Regions from separate parts of the Homo sapiens genome. Here region 1 is linked to region 2. The links are contacts of gene promoters, found by promoter capture Hi-C in human tissues and cell types (Jung and others, 2019). All regions are on one chromosome and are shown on one strand. The core of a region is centred on a gene start or on the middle of the fragment in contact, and the rest is flanking DNA. Distances in the headings are between cores, read along the strand shown. Region 1 has its middle 35 kb from the start of FAM170A. Region 2 holds the start of FAM170A (family with sequence similarity 170 member A).

Region 1 (5,083 bases), core at 872-3,371, 35 kb before region 2:
GCCTGTGAATTCTGCTCTTTATCTCAGCCAAAGGAGATTTCCAATCAGAGTAGCTGTTCTGCAGCACCATGCTGTAGGAGGCACCTTCCATAGGTCTTCTGGACACAACCTCCAGCCACCTTCTTACATAGAACAGGTGTATCCCATTTGGGACCCCCTTCCCATATGGGACAGGCAGTGCTCTGAACATTTGGGAGAGCTGAGGCAAACCTAAGCTTAAGGTGCCATGTAGTCCCATAAAGGAAGCAGTGGTCTAGGATTAAGGAGACTCAATAGGAAACTGCAAAGAACCTCTAAGTAAACATACTCTAATAAACATACCCTAAGTAAATATACCCTCTAAGAGCAAAACAAACTGTACAGTGAAAACTGGAAAAAAATAACTAATCCTGCAATGTGACGCTATAGCTGTATGTCCACAAGAAACAACAGCAAACAAGGAACAATGACCTCCCAAACAGACAAAGCAAGGAGCCAGTGACTGTTCCTAATGAGATGGTGATGTGTGAGCTCTCAGATCAATAATTCAAAATAGCAATTCTAAGGAAACTCAGGGAACTCCAAGATAACACAGAAAAGCAATTCAGAAATTTATCAAAGAAATTTAAGAAAGAGATCAAAATAATAATAAAAAATCAAACAGAAATCCTGGAACCAAGAAATACATTTGCTAAACTGTAAAATACATTAGAGATTCTCAAAAACAGAATGAATCAAGCAGAATGAAGAATCAGTAACCTCAAAGACAGGCTATTTGAAAATACACAGAGGAGAAAAAAGAAAAATAATGAAAGGAATTAAGAATACTTACAAGATATAGAGAATAACCTCAAACAAAACAAAATGAAAACAAATCTAAGAGTCACTGGAATTCAAGAAAGTTGTGAAAAAGGAAGAAGTAGAAAGCTTATTCAAAAAAATGATAATAGAAACCTTTTAAGGCCTAGCGGAACATCAGGTACAGGAAGGTCAGAGACCTCTGCTCAGCCTTCCTTAGCACTTCAATCCATAAATAGAGTCAATACTTGTTTGCTTTTACTTAGAAAAACCAGCAGTACACCTTGACTGTAATGTCACAAGGGTTTACTGAAGGCCCTTTGTATTTTTCCCCAATATTGCATCAGGACTTAATACCCCTATAGTTTCTTCAAAATTCTGCTGTTACTTAGTATATAGATGATCTGTTCTTAGGCTCTCCCATTAAGAGTGCTATAAAATGGACTAAATTTACCTTTTACAGCAACTCACATATAAGGGTCACAAGGCTTCGATGAAAAAACTTCAGTTTTCAAAAGAGCAAGTCCATTATGACTTGACGGCTAAAGGGATTTCCCTCTTGCCTGAAAGAATAAAACTATTTAAAGTTTTCCTCAGCTTGTAACCAGAAGACAATTAAGAAGTTTTCTTGGACTTGCAGGATATTGCCAATTCTGTGTCTTGCATTTTTTCTGAATGGCCTCACCATTGTAAGAGCTTGATAGAAACACAGTACCAGAGCCTTTACCTTGGGAAGACAGTCATGAGCAGGCTTTTAACCAAATGAATTTTGCCTTACGACAGCCTCCAGCTTTGGGACTTCCAAATTACACTAAACCTTTTACCTTGTTTGTCCATGAATGTAACAATCAGGAATTAGGAGCTCTTATCCAAGAACGTAGAGGAAAACATAGGCCCATTGCATATTATAGCCCTCAATTAGACCTAGTAGTGAAGGTACATGCTAATTGTTTAAAAGCAGCTGCAGCCAAGTTGATAGAAGCTTCATCTGAGCTGATTTTAGGGAATAAACTTAATTTGCAAGTCCCACATACTGTGGGAAGTCCTTTACATGCCAACCAAACTCAGTATTTTTCAGAAAGTAGACCAACATCTTGTTAAATTAATCTCCTTCTAATCTCTATTTAAAATTCTGCAACATACTTAACTCTGCTATTCCATTACTCCTGTCTGATGATGGTGAAGCCTATAATTTTGTAAGGATAATATCAGAAATAGTTGCCTCTTGTGTTGATTTATGAGATACACCATTGGATAATCATAAGTTTTTGTCAATGAGCCCTGTGCCAAAAATTCAGAAGGAAAATATTGGGCAGGGTATGCCATTGCCACCCAAAATAAGTTGAGAGAGAAGGGAGCTCTTCCTCAATTTAAGTCAGCTCAGGACATGGAGCTTTTTGCCCCCACCTGAGCTTGTCATATAGCTGAGGGCAAGTCAGTAAATATTTATGCAGATGGCTGATATACCTTTGGCATAGCACACAATTTTGGTATGTTATAGAAACACCAAAGGTTTCTCATTTCTAGTGGGAACTTCATCAAAAATAGACTCCATGCGGATGAACTCCTTTCCACTATCCTGTTACCATCACAGATTGTCATTATTAAGATTGACTCTCATGCATATAAAACTGAACCTGAACATAAAACAGAATTCTCTAGTAGGTTTTTATGCTCAATCGTTTAGTGCTGGAACGGTTAGGGTATGCTTTCTGAATGAACCTCCTAAGATCGATCCAAGTCAACTTCCTTATGATGACCTATTTAGAAAACAGTATAATGCACTTGATTTGGAGAAACAAAAGTGATCTCTGAAAGGACACAAATTCATTGTTAAAAAAGGATCCAAATTCATTGTTAAGCATGGACTCACAGAGGGCCCAGATGGCCACCTGGTCCTTCCTGAGTCTTTGAAGCTTCTATTGTTAAAAGCTATGCACTTCACAACTCAACATGGAAAAGACAAAGTGATACAAGTTATGAAAAAATATTGTTGGGGTTACTGTGCTAACATTTCTAAAATGGTTCATAACCAATATTTTGGTTTGTCAAACTTATAATCCTGGGAAAACAATCAAAACTTCAGGTAGCATATTCCTACCATAAGATGGGCTATTTGAACACTTAAAGATGGATTTTATTCAGTTGCCACTCTCAGTGGGGTATTAGTATGTTCTTGTAATAGTCTGTGTGTTTCCTGGTTGGTAGAGGCTTTCCTATGTAGGAAAGCTGGTGCTGTAACAGTAACTAAGAAATTATTGGAAAATGTGTTTCCTTAAGGGGCATTCCTAGAGAAATCTCTAGCAGTAGGGGAACTCATTTTACTGGGCAATTTATAAAGCAATTAAAGAATGTATTGTGAACATAATGGCATTATCATTGTTTCTATCATCCTCAGTCTTCTGGAAAGGTTGAAAGAACAAATGGCATATTAGAACTGAAATTGGCAATGCTAACTAAGTCAATTGCATTTTCTTGGCCTAAGACACTGCTGTTGGCTTTAATGGTAATCAGATTCACTCTGACTAGAAATCGTAAGTTGAGCTCTTAGGAAACAGTCACTGGAAAACCTATGTCCCTAATAATAAAAGCTCACACATTCCTTGCTCTCTTAAACTCTGATATGATTAAATGCTGCAAGGCTTTAAGCATTATGCCAAAGTGTATTTTCACCAGGTAAAAAAAGCTTTACATGATCCACCATCTGAGGTCAATCAAATACTTCGTGGTCTAGAACTTGGAGATTGGGTGTTTTGGAAATAACATCAGAGTAAGACTGCCCCTGACCCCTATTGGAAGGGACCATATCAAGTTTTTCTCACCACTGACACTGCAATGAAGGCCTTAAATCCTAGGTCCACGTTGCAATTCAAAAGAGCCCTTTCAGATTCTTGGAACAGTACTCCTGTTGGGACTTTAAGGTAAAGCTGACCATGGAAATTTCTCCCTAGAAGTAAATGGCATCTTAAATGTTAACAGCTTTCTCAAATTCACAGATCAAGACTTCTGTACCATCATGAAAACGTTATGCTTTTGTCTTTTTCCCTCATTTTCTGCTGCCCTGATGCTTTTTTCCTACAGGAAGATTCATGAGGCCATAATCAGTGGATGGCTGTAGCTCAAGCTTGTATTCTAGCATAAAACTAGAACAATTGCTGGGTTTGTGGGCTAATGCCAAAAAATCAGGAAACAGTCCCACTGATGCCAATGCCTCTCTGCATTCTCAATGACAATCACTGTGAGATGCCAGAAGAAGAGTGGAAAGCTATCTTTGGTGTTCTAAATATCACTGCTACTTGCTTTCCAGTACTCACTAGAAACAACATTCTATCTTTTATATTTAATAACCTGATCATTACCAAATATAGGAAACCTATCCAAGTAATGTCTGCAAAATGTATTTTGTGCTTCCTGGCATCACACACTCAAGGCCTGGGAATTATCCGTGTGGGTACAAGTAATCGCTCATAGAAAGTCACTAGATTAAATCCAGTAGGTCCCCCTGCCCCATCCCCCTGTTTTTTTTTTTTTTTTGTAACTAAATATGGTTATACATCCTTACAACGTTTTATGAAAGGGCCACAAAAAAGTAAATTTTCCACTGGACTTTGTTCAGGAGCTAGGCAGAACAAGGGTGAAAAATTTAACTAACCCTTGCTCAAATACAACTAGATGGCCCTCTTTTCCAATCCCTTAGGGACTATATTTGGTCTGCACAGAATTTCATTCTACCTCCTTGCTGGTTTGGATCTTGCTATTTGGTCTGGCTCACTCCTGCCTTTTAAATAGCTTCTCGTGAGAGTTCCTGTAATAGCTCCTATGATCAGAAACCAAAGCAGTCAATAACTGAAATTAGCACCAATCTTGAAATAGATGAAAGATAAATTAGATTCTACTGAGGAGACATTCCATCGTGGTTCCTGGGGACTCACTCTTGGTGGTAGTGGGTACTAGTTGTATGGAATTTAAAGCTAATTCATAAATTGAGAGAAATCTTGAAGTTTATAGCCAATCAGACTTCCCACGGTTTGAGGTGCGTAGGAGCCACTCTCTGAAAGGTAAATGATACCATAAGTGTTCAACAAAAACACATCATGCAGCTTTATGTTTCCTTTTAGCTCAAGTTGAGGCCTTATGTTTGCTATTGAACAAAACCGAATGTTGGACCTATCTTTCCCCTAATTTTATTACTACAGAAGGCTTAATTAAAAATCTGGTAGATACTATTCTTTCCTTAGACACTGCCACCAAATAAATTAAGGAAATCTTTCAAGAGAAAGGAACATAGAATGTGTTCGTGGGAACA
Region 2 (5,196 bases), core at 2,200-4,699:
CTAATATTTTATTAAGAATTTTTGCGTCTATATTTATTAGGAATATTGGTATGTAGTTTTCTTTTTTGTTGCTATCTTTGTCTGATTTGGTATCAGGGTATTACTAACTTCATAAAATGAATTGAGAAATCATCTCTCTTCCTCTTTTTCTGGAAGAGATTGTGTAGAATTAATGTTAATTCTTCTTTAAACATTTGACAGAATTTCCCAGTGAAACCATGTAGTCATGGAGATTTCTTTTTTGGGAGTTTAACAATTACAAATTCAATTTCCTTTATAGTTATAGGGCATGAAATTTACTTATTTCATACTGAGCGAGTTGTAGCAGTTTGTGTTTTTTGAGAAATTTGTCCATTTCATCTAAGTTGTCAAATTCAAGTCCATAGCTCTGTTTGTGGGGTTTCCTTGCTATTTTTTTGATGTCTACAGGGTCTGTAATTATATCTTCTGCTTTATTCTTAATATTGTCAATTTTCTAGGAGTGGCAGGCTCGCTGGTTTGTTCTTAATATGTGTATATTTTTAGTTACACAAGTTATATGTTAGTACATTTTTGTTATAGAATTCTAATCATCCAGAGTATGAAATATAAGGAGTAGAGTTCTCTTTCATTATCTTCTGCACCTGTTCCTCTCATCCTCCTTCTTGACTCAGAGGTAAGGAAAGTGAACAGTTTGGGGTATGTCTTCCAGGACTGTGACTCCTACCCCTAAGTAATATTTGGTCACCTGGTGGACATTTTTTCCCTGACTCTTCAAGGATCAGAAGGAGTTTTGATGATGAATCTGGTGGTGGGGGAAGTCAAAGAGGAACAGAGGAAAGCCAGAGGGGGAGGTCAGAGGGAGGAACAAACAGCCATCTTTGTCGGCTACAAGAGGAGGCTCCTTTGATCTAGTGTCCCCACATGTTCCCCACATGAAGGCTATGACTTCAGGGGCAGATGTAGAATGGCCTCTTTTGGTGGGGTACCAGATGAAGGAGTCCACAAGCCTAGCTTCTGGAAAATATCTGATCTTTCAGCAAATTCTGTTGTCTCTTCCTACAAAATACATCCAGAAGATGACCACTATCCATTATTTTCACATCTAACATTGTGATCCAAACCAGTCTCATCTCTCTCCTGGATTATTGCAATAGGCCCACTGTTCTCTCTGATTCAGCCTTTGCCTTCTAAAAGTCTATTCTCAACACAGTTACCAGAGTGATCTTTTCAAATGTAATTTCTCCTGCAAAACTCTGCAAGCTTCCCATGTCACTGAATCTAAAACTAATCAATTATCTAGACCTAACTACCTGTTTACAAGGCAATTCAGCTCATAGGGGAACATCTAGATAACATCACAAGAATACAATTAACCATTTCCAAACTGTGGAAAATTCTAGAAGATAAATTACTCAGTTTTTTCCAACAGGTGAATGCCTTAAAAAGGGAGGGAGAACTGTTATAGACTAAAAGATGTATCAACCAATCACAATGTGTGGACTTTGTTTGGATCTTGATCTCAACAATACAGTTATACAAAGATATTTTAGCATATTTGGAGGAAATTGAGTATGGCTTGGTTATGAAATTATATAAAAGAATTATGATTAAATTCATTTGGTGAGATAATGATATTTCTGTTATGCTTTTTAAAAGTTCATATCTTTGTAGGTACATACTGCTGCATTCAAGGAGAAATGACATAATGTCTGGAATTTGCTTTAAAATACAGCAAGTCCCCCACTCCTCTATCTCAAACACCTAAATAAAAAGAAATGAACAAAAGACTAAAAGTCTGTGTGTGTGGTGGTTGGAACAAGAATGGCAGAATACTGATAACTGTTGAAACTGGATTATGTGTACATGAAACTGCATTCCTATTATACAATTCTCTCTACTTTAGTCTGAAAATTTCTACCACCCAAAAAAATGCTCTTTGGCCCCTCTTTTTTAGGGATTCTTTAAGAAACTGGAGATTTAATCTCATCAGCAAATTTTTACAAGGCTACATTTGCCCTATCTTCATTCTCCTTCTGCCTGGGGACAGTCTGCAGTGCCCTTTCAAATTTGGGCCCATCTTGGTCCTCTGGGTATTTCTACTGCTTTTTTAATGCAGTGATTTCTGGGAGTCCCCCTCATACTTGTCAACTAATAGTCCCACTGGACTGGGGCCACTGCCCCAAATAAGGTGTCTCTAATTTTAGATTGGAATCAGGAAGATCCAGATGGGTTGCCACTTATAACTGGTATACATTTCAGCCCATGAGCAGAGATGTGCAGGAAATAGTATGCAATTTTCTTATGTAACTCCATTTAATTTGTAATTTAAGCCTTGGTTCTGTTGATGTCCTCTTTGGATTTCCACCCCTCCCTATTTGGAAATCATACAGGGCTGAGGTTTTGAGGGTGGGGTGAGAGCATAGTCTCTGGTTATTGGAGCATACAGCTGAAGTTTAGATGCCCATCAGCTCAGCTGCCAGGGAGTCTTTAGGTGGTGTGGCTCCTATGCCATGTGTGAGATAGGTCGCCATGATTCTGCCTGTACGCATAATACAGGCAGCCCTTCTTGAAGTTTTTGCCACATGTACCTCTTCAGCCACATTTTAGAGGGCTCCTCTCCTCCATAGTTTGAAGATCCCTCTCTCTCTCTGACCTAATCAGTACCTCTCAACACTATAGTAGAGCAAGAAGGGGGCATGCCTAGTTAAAAAAAATCCTGCTTCCGTTATGTTTCTGCTAACTTTCCTCTTTCCTACAGAGTTTGAGATTTTAGAAATAAAAGTCAGGTGGGGTGTGGTGGCTCATGCCTACAATCCTAGCACTTTGGGAGCCTGAGGCAGGAGGATAGCTTGAGGCTAGGAGTTCAAGACCAACCTGGGCAACATACTGAGACCCTGTTTCTCAAAAAAAAAAAAAAAAAAAAAAATTAGCCGGGTGTGGTGCCTCGTGTCTGGTGCCTGTTGTCCCAGCTACTCGGGAGGCTGAAGTGTGATGATCACTTGAGCCTAGGGGCTGAAGTGACCCTATGATCACACCACTGCAATCCAGCCTGGGCAACAGAGAGAGACCCTGTCTCTGAACAAACAAAACAAAATAAAAACAACAAAAAAAAAAAAAAGAAAGAAAAGTCAAGATGATTAACATGCTATTGCTGCTTTCAGCCCTGCCATACCCCTCCTCTGAGCAATGAACACAAAGCCTGCTACCTGCTTGAGTCCAGAAGGGAAAGGGTGAAAAAAAAAGAAGAAAAGAAAAAAATTAAACAGAACATGTTAACATCTCAAAATATTCTGCCACATTTGAAATACGGGAGAGTTGAATTCATTAGAGGACTTCTATTGGAAAAAAGGAATTGTTTTTGAAAATGATGTCTCTGCAGTTGCACAGACTGTGTTGGACCTAGGTCCGTAGAACGCCGTGATGTCATCATTGATGTCAGAGAATCTGCGATGGGCCTGGTGACCTTTGAACCTTAACAGCCCTGCAGTGTAGTGGGCACTGGGCAGTGCTGCTCCTTCACTAAGCGGTCTGAGTTCTTTAGCTATCTCGGAGATTCAACTACGTTTACTCGTACTGAATCTTTTTAATGAATTTCCTGAGAGCCAAGAAGGGCCAATCTACAGGAAAAAGTGGGAGGTGGACATTAAGCATCTTCTAGAAACTCTTCTAGCTGATATCATGAAACGACGACAAAAGAGGAAACATTTGGAAAATGAAGAGTCCCAGGAAACCGCTGAGAAGGGAGGAGGTATGTGCGGGGCAAACTTTCTGGGGCACAAGCGTCACTGGCCAGCCTGAGCCGCCTTCTTTTTCTTTTTTGAGACGGAGTCTCGCTCTATCGCCCAGGCTGGAGTGCAGTGGCGCGATCTTGGCTCACTGAAAGCTCTGCCTCTCGGGTTCACGCCATTCTCCTGCCTCAGCCTCCCGAGTAGCTGGGACTACAGGTGCCCACCACCACGCCCGGCTAATTTTTTGTATTTTTAGTAGAGACGGGGTTTCACCGTGTTAGCCAGGATGGTCTCGATCTCCTGACCTCCTGATCCGCCTGCCTCGGCCTCCTTTTTTTTTTTTTTTTCGTTTCTGAGACAGAGTCTTGCTCTGTCGCCCAGGCTGGAGTGCAGTGGTGTGAGCTCGGCTCACTGCAAGCTCCGCCTCCCAGGTTCACGCCATTCACCTGCCTCAGCCTCCCGAGTAGCTGGGACTATAGGCGCCCGCCACCACGCCTGGCTAATTTTTTTTTTTTTTTTTTTTTTTGTATTTGTAGTAGAGACAGGGTTTCACCGTGTTAGCCAGGATGGTTTCGATCTCCTGACCTCATGATCCACCTGCCTCGGCCTCCCAAAGTGCTGGGATTATAGGCGTGAGCCATCGCTCCCGGCCAGCCTGAGCCTTCTTTAGGGAGGAGAAACTGAGGAGAATGTACCACCTATGCAGTAGGGAGGGGAAGACCTGGCTGTTGGCTGATGCCCGCACATCCATCTTGAGGGTACCCAGATGTGAGACGGACAGGAAGTTCAGATGCCACTGGCACACAGAAAGCCAACCCTGCTGGGCTGAGAACTTTTGCTCTGGGGCTGCTGGTACCTGGAACTATGCCAGTCTCAGGCAGGCGGGGGACCCACTTACAAAGACCCAGTGATGCAGCCTGAGTCTCATCTTTCTCTCGTATTCTCTTTATTTGCTCTTTCTCTGGGGTGACTGAGGTGGAAGGTGTGAAGGGTGCTGGTAGAAGTCTATGATTTGCACTACACCTTTTAGCAGAAACGAGAGTAGCCCAATGAGTTAAAGGCCTTGTTGAAAAATATCTTGAGAAGTGAAATGCTTGTTAGAAAGTAGATTAAACACTTGTTTAGGGATGGCGTCATAGTGAAACCACGGAGGTTTGATTGCTTCAGCGGGAAGAATTAACCAATTAATCCAATAGAGTTTGTGAATCCACAGTGTGGGACTTCCCAGAGGAAATGAAGCACAGGGTAAGGGCCTCAGATCGCTGTCAATTTACTTCCCAGGCTGCATGATAATGGCATGTATTAAATGTAAACAAGCCACTTATCCTGAAAGGGGGATGCTCACATGCAGGAGACAGGGCAGAAAGGAGCCTGCCCCAGAGATGGCCCTGGAGGCTTCTGCCCCGATTAGAGCTCAGCAGCGCCTATGAGGCATAAAGACCTGTAGGTTGAGCCCTGGGAATGGAGGCGTGGAGAGTAGGCATGG

Evidence for each region. The method cuts DNA at HindIII sites, captures the fragments that hold promoters and counts their contacts. A contact is called where the count stands out against the background at its distance.
Region 1: a fragment that was not itself captured here is called in contact with the fragment with the promoter of FAM170A in region 2 in 2 of the 25 tissues and cell types used here (hippocampus and psoas muscle).

The regions. Positions count from the first base shown.
Region 1 is chr5:119,592,285-119,597,367 of GRCh38, forward strand. No RefSeq gene overlaps it. Among named protein-coding and RNA genes, the nearest start is that of FAM170A, 35 kb to the right of the region's middle. The HindIII fragment of the contact is 3,122 bases long and covers 561-3,682 here.
Region 2 is chr5:119,626,109-119,631,304 of GRCh38, forward strand. FAM170A (family with sequence similarity 170 member A) reads left to right here and starts at 3,450. Exons shown (of 5, transcript NM_001367956.1): 1 at 3,450-3,730. The coding sequence starts at 3,661. The HindIII fragment of the contact is 14,754 bases long and covers 1-5,196 here.